2 separate regions of the Homo sapiens genome follow, and region 2 is linked to region 1. Evidence: promoter capture Hi-C in 16 types of primary human blood cells and fetal thymus (Javierre and others, 2016). All regions are on one chromosome and are shown on one strand. Each heading gives the region's core, a stretch centred on a gene start or on the middle of the fragment in contact. The rest is flanking DNA. Distances are from core to core; before and after follow the strand shown.

Region 1 (4,661 bases), core at 1,483-3,982:
CCTCAGAATGGCCTGCATGGCACTACATTATCTGTCCTTTATCACCACTTTGACAGCACTCTCCTTTGCTTATTTTGCTCCTCATTCTGGTCTCTGGATCTGTGCACTTGCTGTTCCTTACGCTCTTCTCCCAGGGATCTGAAAGGCTCACACCCTCACCTCCTTCAGATGTTTGCTAAAATGTCTTCTACCCAGTGAAGCCTTCCCCAACCACTACATTAAAAACACACAACCAGCCCTCTCCCTCTCCCTCCTCTCCCTCTCCCCACGGTCCCCCTCTCCCCACGGTCTCCCTCTGATGCCGAGCCGAAGCTGGACTGTACTGCTGCCATCTCGGCTCACTGCAACCTCCCTGCCTGATTCTCCTGCCTCAGCCTGCCGAGTGCCTGCGATTACAGGCGCATGCCGCCACGCCTGACTGGTTTTCGTACTTTTTTGGTGGAGACGGGGTTTCGCTGTGTTGGCCGGGCTGGTCTGCAGCTCCTAACCGCGAGTGATCTGCCAGCCTCGGCCTCCCGAGGTGCCGGGTTTGCAGACGGAGTCTGGTTCACTCAGTGCTCAATGGTGCACAGGCTGGAGTGCAGTGGCGTGATCGAGGCTCGCTACAACCTCCACCTCCCAGCCGCCTGCCTTGGCCTCCCAAAGTGCCGAGATTGCAGCCTCTGCCTGGCCCCCCATCGTCTGGGACGTGAGGAGCCCCTCTGCCTGGCTGCCCAGTCTGGAAAGTGAGGAGCGTCTCTGCCCGGCCGCCATCCCATCTAGGAAGTGAGGAGCACCTCTTCCCGGCCGCCATCCCATCTAGGAAGTGAGGGGAGTCTCTGCCCGGCCGCCCATCGTCTGAGATGTGGGGAGCACCTCTGCCCCGCCGCCCCGTCTGGGATGTGAGGAGCGCCTCTGCCCGGCCGCCCCATCTGAGAAGTGAGGAGACCCTCCGCCCGGCAGCCACCCCATCCGGGAGGGAGGTGGGGGTCAGCCCCCGCCAGGCCAGCCACCCCATCCGGGAGGGAGGTGGGGGTCAGCCCCCCGCCCGGCCAGCCACCCCGTCTGGGAGGGAGGTGGGGGGGCCAGCCCCCGTCCGGGAGGAAGGTGGGGTGTCAGCCCCCCGCCCGGCCAGCCGCCCCGTCCGGGAGGGAGGTGGGGGGTCAGCCCCCCGCCCGGCCAGCCGCCCCGTCCGGGAGGGAGGTGGGGGGGTCAGCCCCCCGCCCGGCCAGCCGCCCCGTCCGGGAGGTGAGGGGCGCCTCTGCCCGGCCGCCCCTACTGGGATGTGAGGAGCCCCTCTGCCCGGCCACCACCCCGTCTGGGAGGTGTACTCAACAGCTCATTGAGAACGGGACGGGATGACAATGGCGGTTTTGTGTAATAGAAAGGGGGGAAAGGGGGGGAAAAGATTGAGAAATCGGATGGTTGCCGTGTCTGTGTAGAAAGAAGTAGACATGGGAGACTTTTCATTTTGTTCCATACTAAGAAAAATTCTTCTGCCTTGGGATCCTGCTAATCGGTGACCTTACCCCCAACCCTGTGCTCTCTGAAACATGTGCTGTGTCCACTCAGAGTTGAATGGATTAAGGGCGGTGCAAGATGTGCTTTGTTAAACAGATGCTTGAAGGCAGCGTGCTGGTTAAGAGTCATCACCACTCCCTAATCTCAAGTACCCAGGGACACAAACACTGCGGAAGGCCGCAGGGTCCTCTGCCTAGGAAAACCAGAGACCTTTGTGCACTTGTTTATCTGCTGACCTTCCCTCCACTATTGTCCTATGACCCTGCCAAATCCCCCTCTGCGAGAAACACCCAAGAATGATCAATAAAAAAAAAAAAAAAAAAAAACACAACCAGCATCCATTCTCTTATCTTCCTCCACTTTGCATTTCTCCATTGTTTAACATCACTTGCACACCTTTAATTTTTAGTTTATTAATTCATACTGCAAACGAACTCAGTTCTTATCATGTGCCAGGTATTGTCCTAGTTGCTGACAATACAGCTGAAAATAAAATAGACAAAAATCCTATCTTTTGAATCTTTTGAACCTTGCATTGGGAGTGACAGACAAAACGAGGTAAATCAGTAAAATACGTGAGACACAAAGCTAAAGGAAAAAAATAAGAGGAAAGGGCAGATTTTTGTGTCTTCCTTCCAGAATGGAAGCTCCCTGAGGATACGGATTTGTGTTTTTTCCTATTATATCTCCTGACAATAGCGCCCAGCACATAGTAGGCATTCGATCGAATTTTTAAAATGAAATACAAGGCAGTTACTCAGTTCCCGGGCACATTTCAACTTTTAGAGAACAATTACACCAATTAAGAAAATCGATTACAGCTAGGCTACGATTCGAGAGCTAAGTGGCGCTCATCTTTGGGAGTATGCCGTTCAATTCCTCAAACTCAAAATTATTTTATCGATTTCTACAGTTACCGCGGTGCACTGGCTCAAAAAAAGGGTTCATTAATTGAGTGCTTTTTACTCCCAGCTAAGCTGACCAAAGATCACGGTAAGAGGCAAAGGGTCACAGCCGCACTGGCGTAACCCGTAACTGTACACGTTCCGGGCGGCCAGGAGCCAGGGCGCAGACCTCCAAGCCGGACCACTCGAGCTGCTAAAGAAAAGGCAATACACTAACCTCTCCGCCGGAAGAGAAGAAGGAAGCGCCAGGGACGCACGCTTCCTCGGCAGGACTGCAGGGAAAGAGCCGCACCCCCAGCCTCTCACTACTGCAGCCAACCCATCTCCTGGAAGGGCGCTCCCGCCCACCCCCGCTACTGCGCAGCCGCACTGAACTCTGGTCCCACTTAGCGGGAGAAACTCGGGCCACGTGACTGTCTGACCACGTGAGCCGCGTCGCCGCGACCTCTTCCGCTCCCTAGGCCCTGGGACCTCCCGGTCCCTTGCCTGCTTCCGGCTTTCGCTCGCTTCCATATCCGCTCCTCTAGTCGCCCTCCGCTGGCCCCGCCTTCGTCCCCGGAAGATTGGGTCTTCTGGCGAGCCACTGTTTGCCGTTTGATCGGGCACCAAATAAAGTTTCTTTATTCAAAAGCACTTTTTTTTTAAAGCCACACCACCCCCATTCTCAGCTCCTCCTTCGCGGCGGTACCGCCTCTGTTTCTGCGGCGATTGAACAGCCGAGCTTTGCGGCCGGGATCGCGGAAAGTGATGGCTGTCGTCCCGGCGTCTCTCTCAGGACAGGACGTGGGGTTAGTCTAGCTTTTCTCCTCCCCACTTTTGCGGAAAGCCGGGCCTCGCCGGGAGCCTGTGGGGACTAAGCGGAGGGCGCCCGCTCCCCGGTGGGCTGCGTTCGAGTCCCGCCGCCGGGCGCGGCTTTCCGGGGCGCCTTTGCGGGTTTCGCGGACTGGCTCGGAGGCGAAGGGAGGCGGCCCCGGGGAGGGAGCCTGCCCGCGGCGGCTGCTCGTAAGGATCAGGACAGGGGTCAGCTTCGCGGTCTGTTCCTGGCGGTCACTTTTTATTTATTCACTTTAATAGACGCGCTTTGGGGGCGTTAAAATTCTGCGTAAGAGTTGGGGATCTCAGCGCTATTAAGAAACGGGTTTCTCCCTGTTGTTGATCAAATCGTAATCTCACAGTAAGAACTGTCTAGTTTTTTGCTTTATAGTCGTCACGCTACTGATTCTTGGGTAAAGTTGTGGGTGACCGTGCAAATAACATCCATTTGCATAAATCGAATGGCCAAATTTATATTTGAAATTTGTCCTTACTTCAAAATATTGCAAAAGACGAGAACACTTTGAAGAAAATAAACCTGGGCAGAAAGTAGGTTGAGGCCAACAAAGTGGCGCCAATGGCCCCAAATTGAGGCAGTCACTGTTTCAGGTCATGCAAGTATAGAGAGTATCTCCTTCAATTTTGCGCCCTAGGGCTTCTGGCCTCACTCCAGTCCTGGCCAGAGACTTTGTTCCAGAGGTGCAGGAAATGTAGTAGTTAGGAAAACAGTAATACTTTCCAATTAAAGTAAAATCTCAAAAAAGGACTTACTATACCTACTGCCTGGGAAAATTCAAGTGACAGTTGATTTAATGTTCCTGCTCACCCTCTGAGGTATTAGTGATTTCTTTTATTAATGATTTTTAAAAATTAAATTCTGATCAACGTAGTTATTATGCGCATTAAAACCTAATCACTGTTTTGGGTGGTACTGAAAGCACCACAGAGTCGGAAAGTGTGTGCAGTTTTTTTCTTAAAGTTCTATAGCTATCATTTGAGGAAACCTTTTGAAGAAATACCCAAGTTACAATCTAGTAATTTAACAATTGTCTCCTGTGATCTGGAGATAAAAACACTAGTCAGCTAAGCTCTGTGCTCTATATTTAAAACTGCACAGAATTTCTCCACCAAATAAAGCTTTTTTTCTACCTGTATCATGTATTTCCTTAGAATGATATAAAATGATAATCTGTAAATCTTGGGTTTTGTATGAATAAAATCAAGAATATCTTTAATTTTTTAATGCAGGTATAAGTTTTTCTTCATCTCCAGCTTGCTTCATTCTTGAACACTTCTATAAAATCTCTGATTTTTTGAGTGGGAAGAGACAGTAGCACGCCTTCATTTGCTTAGGGGCAGAATAGGATGGAAGGAGTCCATTGTGCAGATAGAGAAGGCAGAGAAGGGGAAAATTTTTGAAAATAATTAAAATTGACTTAGAAA
Region 2 (4,661 bases), core at 1,003-3,502, 5.5 Mb before region 1:
GCAGCCTAGTAATCCCTCTCTTAGGTATTTATCCAAGAGAAATCAAAACATAAATCCACAAAAATTTAAACTTGAATGTTAACAGCTTTACTATTAAAAGCCCCAAACTGGAAGAAAACCCAAATGTCCATCAACTGGTGAATGGACAAATTGTGGCATAGTCACACAATGGAATACTATTCTGTGATAAAAAGAGACTTCTGTAAAATAACCTGAATGAACTGTTAAAGCATTATGCTAAACTGAAGAAAGCTAGATGTGAAAGACTATATACTATATGATTCCATTTACATGAAATTCTAGAAATGGCAAAAACCTGATTGCAGAAAGTAGATGAGTGGTTACCAGGGGCAAGGAAGTATAAAGAGGTGACTGACAGTAAAGGAGCAGGAAGGCAGGCTTTGGGGTGACATAAATGTTCAACACATGATTGCAGAGTATACATCTGTCAAAACTCATCAAATTATATACTTTAAATTGAATTTTCTTATACATAAATTATATCATAAAGTTGATTTAAAGAGCAAAAACAAAAAGATGCACGAGATTTAGAAATTTTAATATTAAGTATAACTTTATTCAATAAATCTGAAAAATCTAGATAAAATGATAAATTATAAAGTGATAAAATTTTGCTAACAAAATACAAATGAACAAAACTGGCCCAAGAAGGAAAATATGAATAGACCAATAACCATAAAAGAAACTAAAGTGACATTATTTACCTGCCTAAGGTCTATCCTCCTTCCCTGATGACTGAACCTTTATTTAGGAACAAGGTGGCCCTATGATTCAAAGGAAGTGATTTCCTTGGCACCTCCAAGGAAGTAGTTTCTAGCTACTATTGGCCAAAGCAAATCCAATAAGGTAGTTATTGGCTGCATGTGACTACTTAACTTTCAATACAGTTATGCATTGTATAATGACATTTTGGTCAATGAGGGACCAAATATTACAGTGGTTCCATAAGGGAGCTGAAAAATTCCTATGGACTAGTGACATCATAGCCATTGTAACATCATAATGCATTTATTTATTTATTTATTTATTGAGATAGAGACTCACTCTGTTGCCCAGCTGGAGTGCAGTGGCGTGATCTCTGCTCACTGCAAGCTCCACCTCCTGGGTTCATGCCATTCTCCTGCCTCAGCCTCCTGAGTAGCTGGGACTACAGGCGCCTGCCACTATGCCCAGCTAACTTTTTTTTTGTATTTTTAGTAGAGACGGGGTTTCATGTGTTAGCCAGGATGGTTTTGAACTCCTGAACTCAAGATCTGCATGCCTCAGCCTCCCAAAGTGCTGGGACTACAGGCGTGAGCCACCGCGCCTAGCCGCATTACTTTATTTTTTAATAAACTTTGTGTAGCATAAGTGTACAGTGTTTACAAAGTCTACAGAAGTGTACAGTAATGTCCCAGGCCTTCACATTCACTCCCTGACTAACCCAGAGCAACCTTCAGTGTTATAAGCTGCATTCATGCTAAGTACCCCACAAAGGTGTACTATTTTTTATCTTTTATACCATATCTTTATTGTACATTTTCTATATTTAAATATGTTTAAATATACAAATACTACGGTGTGACAACTGCCTACAGTATCCAGTACCGAATATACTGTACAGGTTTGTAGCCTAGGAGCAGCAGGCTGTACCATAGAGCCTAGGTGTGTAGTAGGCTGGCGGTACCACCTAGGTTTGTGTAAGTATACTCTTAAGATGTTCACACAACAAACTTGCCTATGATGCATTCCTCAAAACACAGCCCCATCATTAAGTGATGCATGACTATAAATAAAATTAAATGTTATAAACTCAGCTCTTCAGTCTCACTAGCCCCATGTGCTCAGTAGCGCTATGTGACTAGTGGCTACTGTACTGGACAGCACAAATATAGAGCATTCACATAATTGCAAAAAGTCTATGTATCAGACAGTGCTTGTTTAAGTCAATCATGAGAATTCTATTCCCTTAGCCCGTGCTTCACTTATGAATGTGCAGGTGATGGATTAAAATCAATCCTTGGCTATGGTCAACTACTTTTAAAGCATCTTATCCTCTCTTATCTTAGTGGAATAATATAGAAAGCTCTTAATTTCCTAAGTGTTTATGTTTGTCCAGTTTTCCTCAAAGCATAAGCTGGAATACTGAAAGTGGGTCACTCTGCAGGAACTTTAAAAAGTTATGCTATAGTAGCTTATCAGTTAACTACTGCCACAAACATGCTGTGTAACACACTACCTCAAAGCTCAATACCTTGATATAGCAATCATTTATTCTCATAGATCTGCACATTAGCTGAAGGAGGCTAATCTAGGCTAGGTTTCTGGAAAAGCAGTTTGGCTCTGCTTAATGTAGTTCCTATCCCCTCTCCTTGGATCAGCAAAGTAACTCAGGAATGTTCTTTATGGCAATGGTTGAGGTGTATTACTGCAAATCCAATCACACAAGTAGTTTTCAAAGTGCTTAAAAACCACTAAGGTGCCACAGACCAAAGCAAGACATATCCATGGACCCAATGTCAAGTGGTGAAGAAATATACTACACCTCTTTACTAGGTGAAACTGCACATGGCAAAGAGCATGGATATGGGGGGTGGAAGGGTAGAGGGAGTGTTGGAAGGGAATTGGGCCAGTTACACAATGTATCACACTAACCATAATAATATTAATAACATGGTTATTGTGGAATCATTAACTCTGAAAACCCAAAAAGCAACTGTCTAGCAGAGTCTCACATTAGCAAAGCGATGTGGCTTAAAGGTGAGAATGCAATGCTTTGAAGTCTTATATTCATTCTAATTCCAGCTTTGGCATTTACTGACTGTGTGGCATTGGAATAGTTATCCAGTCTTCTGTGCCAATTTTCTCATCTCTAAAATGGGGATGATAGCAGGATTGTGGTTAGAAATAATTTAAGTACAACAGCAGTACTAGAAATTTGGCCTGTATTCCATAAATGGTAGTTGCTACTTATCATCATCCTGAGAACACTCTAAACCAGCAGTTCCCAACCTTTTTGGTACCATAAATGGGTTTCATGGAAGACAAGTTTTCCATGGACCGGAGGAGAGGGGTGGAGTGGAGAGGGGGTTGTTTAGGGATGAAACTATTCCACCTTAGATCATCAGGCATTAGGTTTTAATAAGAAGTGCACAACCTAGATCCTGCGCATATGCAGTTCACGATAGCATTCATGCTCTTATGGTAATCTACTGACTGTTGATCTGACAGGAGGCACAGCTCAGGTGGTAATGCTCGCTTGCCCGCAACTCACCTCCTGCAATGCAGCCCGGTTCTAACAGGCCACGGACTGGCACCGGTCCATGGCCTGAGGGGTGGGGACCCCTGCTCTAAACCACATTTCACAATAACCAAACTGTAATGTCGCAGGATGGGGGACCACAGATTAGTGCTTCTCAAACTTGACTGCACATTAGAATCACCAGGGGAACTTAAAAAAATCCTGATGTCGAGCCAACTAAGTCAGAATGTCTTGGAGAAGGGCCCAGGCACTACTCCCTTTATTTTTTAGAATCCCTAAAAAATTCCAGGGTGCAGCCAAGTTCAAAAAACCTTGTTATGGATAACCAGCTGCCAACTAAAATCCACTTATTTCCACTCAAAGTATAGAGTAGTTGAGAAATGACTGCCCAGCTTGGTTTGGTCCTGTGACCAGTCCTAGCCAATGGAATGTGAGAAGTAATATGTGCCATGTTTCCCACAATAATTTTGTAACAGACATATTACCAAACCAGAAAACATTACTTCAACTATTTATTCTGTTCTCTGGTAAAACCTATCCAGTATCTTTTAAATTATGTACACCATTATAATTTGCACATTCCTTCAGATGTATTCTTTCAGCCTGATTCTTCCAATATTAGTGCCTCAAGGTACTTATCAGTGATAATGATAAACTGCAGAAAAGTCAACACCAGAATTTCTAGCAATGCTCTCCCTTTGTCCAGTTCTTAACTGAGTAAACATTCATGATCAAAAATCAACCAACCAAACAAAAAGCTCCTGGTTTTGACTGAGTCTTTACTTAAGGAAATCTCTATTCAGGGTTAACTTCTTGAACCAAAGAAAATAGTATTTGGTCAAATATACTTATGACTAAAATGCAATTTGGCAACTAGTAAGTCAAGTACTGGTGAAATTCTGTATCTAACCACATCCCATATTCTTCTGGTTTTATTCATACCTTATCAGTCACAACTACTTCTTCCTCCTCCTTAATTAGCAGTGTTTGGGTAAAACGTAATTATGTGAAGTTTTCTATATGGACCGCACTTTTACTGTCTTGTATTTAAATATAAAAGCCTTTTGCTTGAATTGCTTTTATGCCTGTCTCCATCCCAATCTTCCCTGGAAAGGCTTCCATGACTAGAGAAGCTGAGTTAAGGGCCTCTCTCTCCTCGATCCCAACTGCTAGAGTGTTCACTTTGAAAGATGGGCAGGAGTAGTATCCTATTCAGTGTTGTACTCCCAATGCCAGGTCAGTGCTAGGAAGTAAAGACATACAAAAAGGGTGAAACAAAGATCTCTAATTCCGTGGATGTATTCCCTCCTTTTGAGGACCTAACGATACTTTACTCTTATTTCTTTTTGGAGAAGTCTCTCTTATCCACATTCTAGAAGACTATAGGTAATATGAAACT

The links. Contacts are between HindIII fragments. The CHiCAGO score rates a contact against its expected background, and 5 or more counts as called.
Region 2: a contact is called between a fragment that was not itself captured here and the fragment with the promoter of RMND1 in region 1, in 1 of 17 cell types (naive CD8 T cells). The highest score is 9.2, in naive CD8 T cells.

Annotation. Positions count from the first base shown.
Region 1 is chr6:151,449,394-151,454,054 of GRCh38, forward strand. RMND1 (required for meiotic nuclear division 1 homolog) reads right to left here and starts at 2,733. Exons shown (of 12, transcript NM_017909.4): 1 at 2,623-2,733. It overlaps DCPH1 (damage control phosphatase 1), which reads left to right and starts at 3,073. Exons shown (of 5, transcript NM_024573.3): 1 at 3,073-3,193. The coding sequence starts at 3,153. RefSeq lists enhancers at 2,461-2,510, 2,701-3,150 and a silencer at 3,311-3,430. The HindIII fragment of the contact is 8,083 bases long and covers 1-4,353 here.
Region 2 is chr6:145,957,802-145,962,462 of GRCh38, forward strand. The region is part of intron 1 of SHPRH (SNF2 histone linker PHD RING helicase); the gene reads right to left. Among named protein-coding and RNA genes, the nearest start is that of SHPRH, 4.2 kb to the right of the region's middle. The HindIII fragment of the contact is 5,758 bases long and covers 1-4,661 here.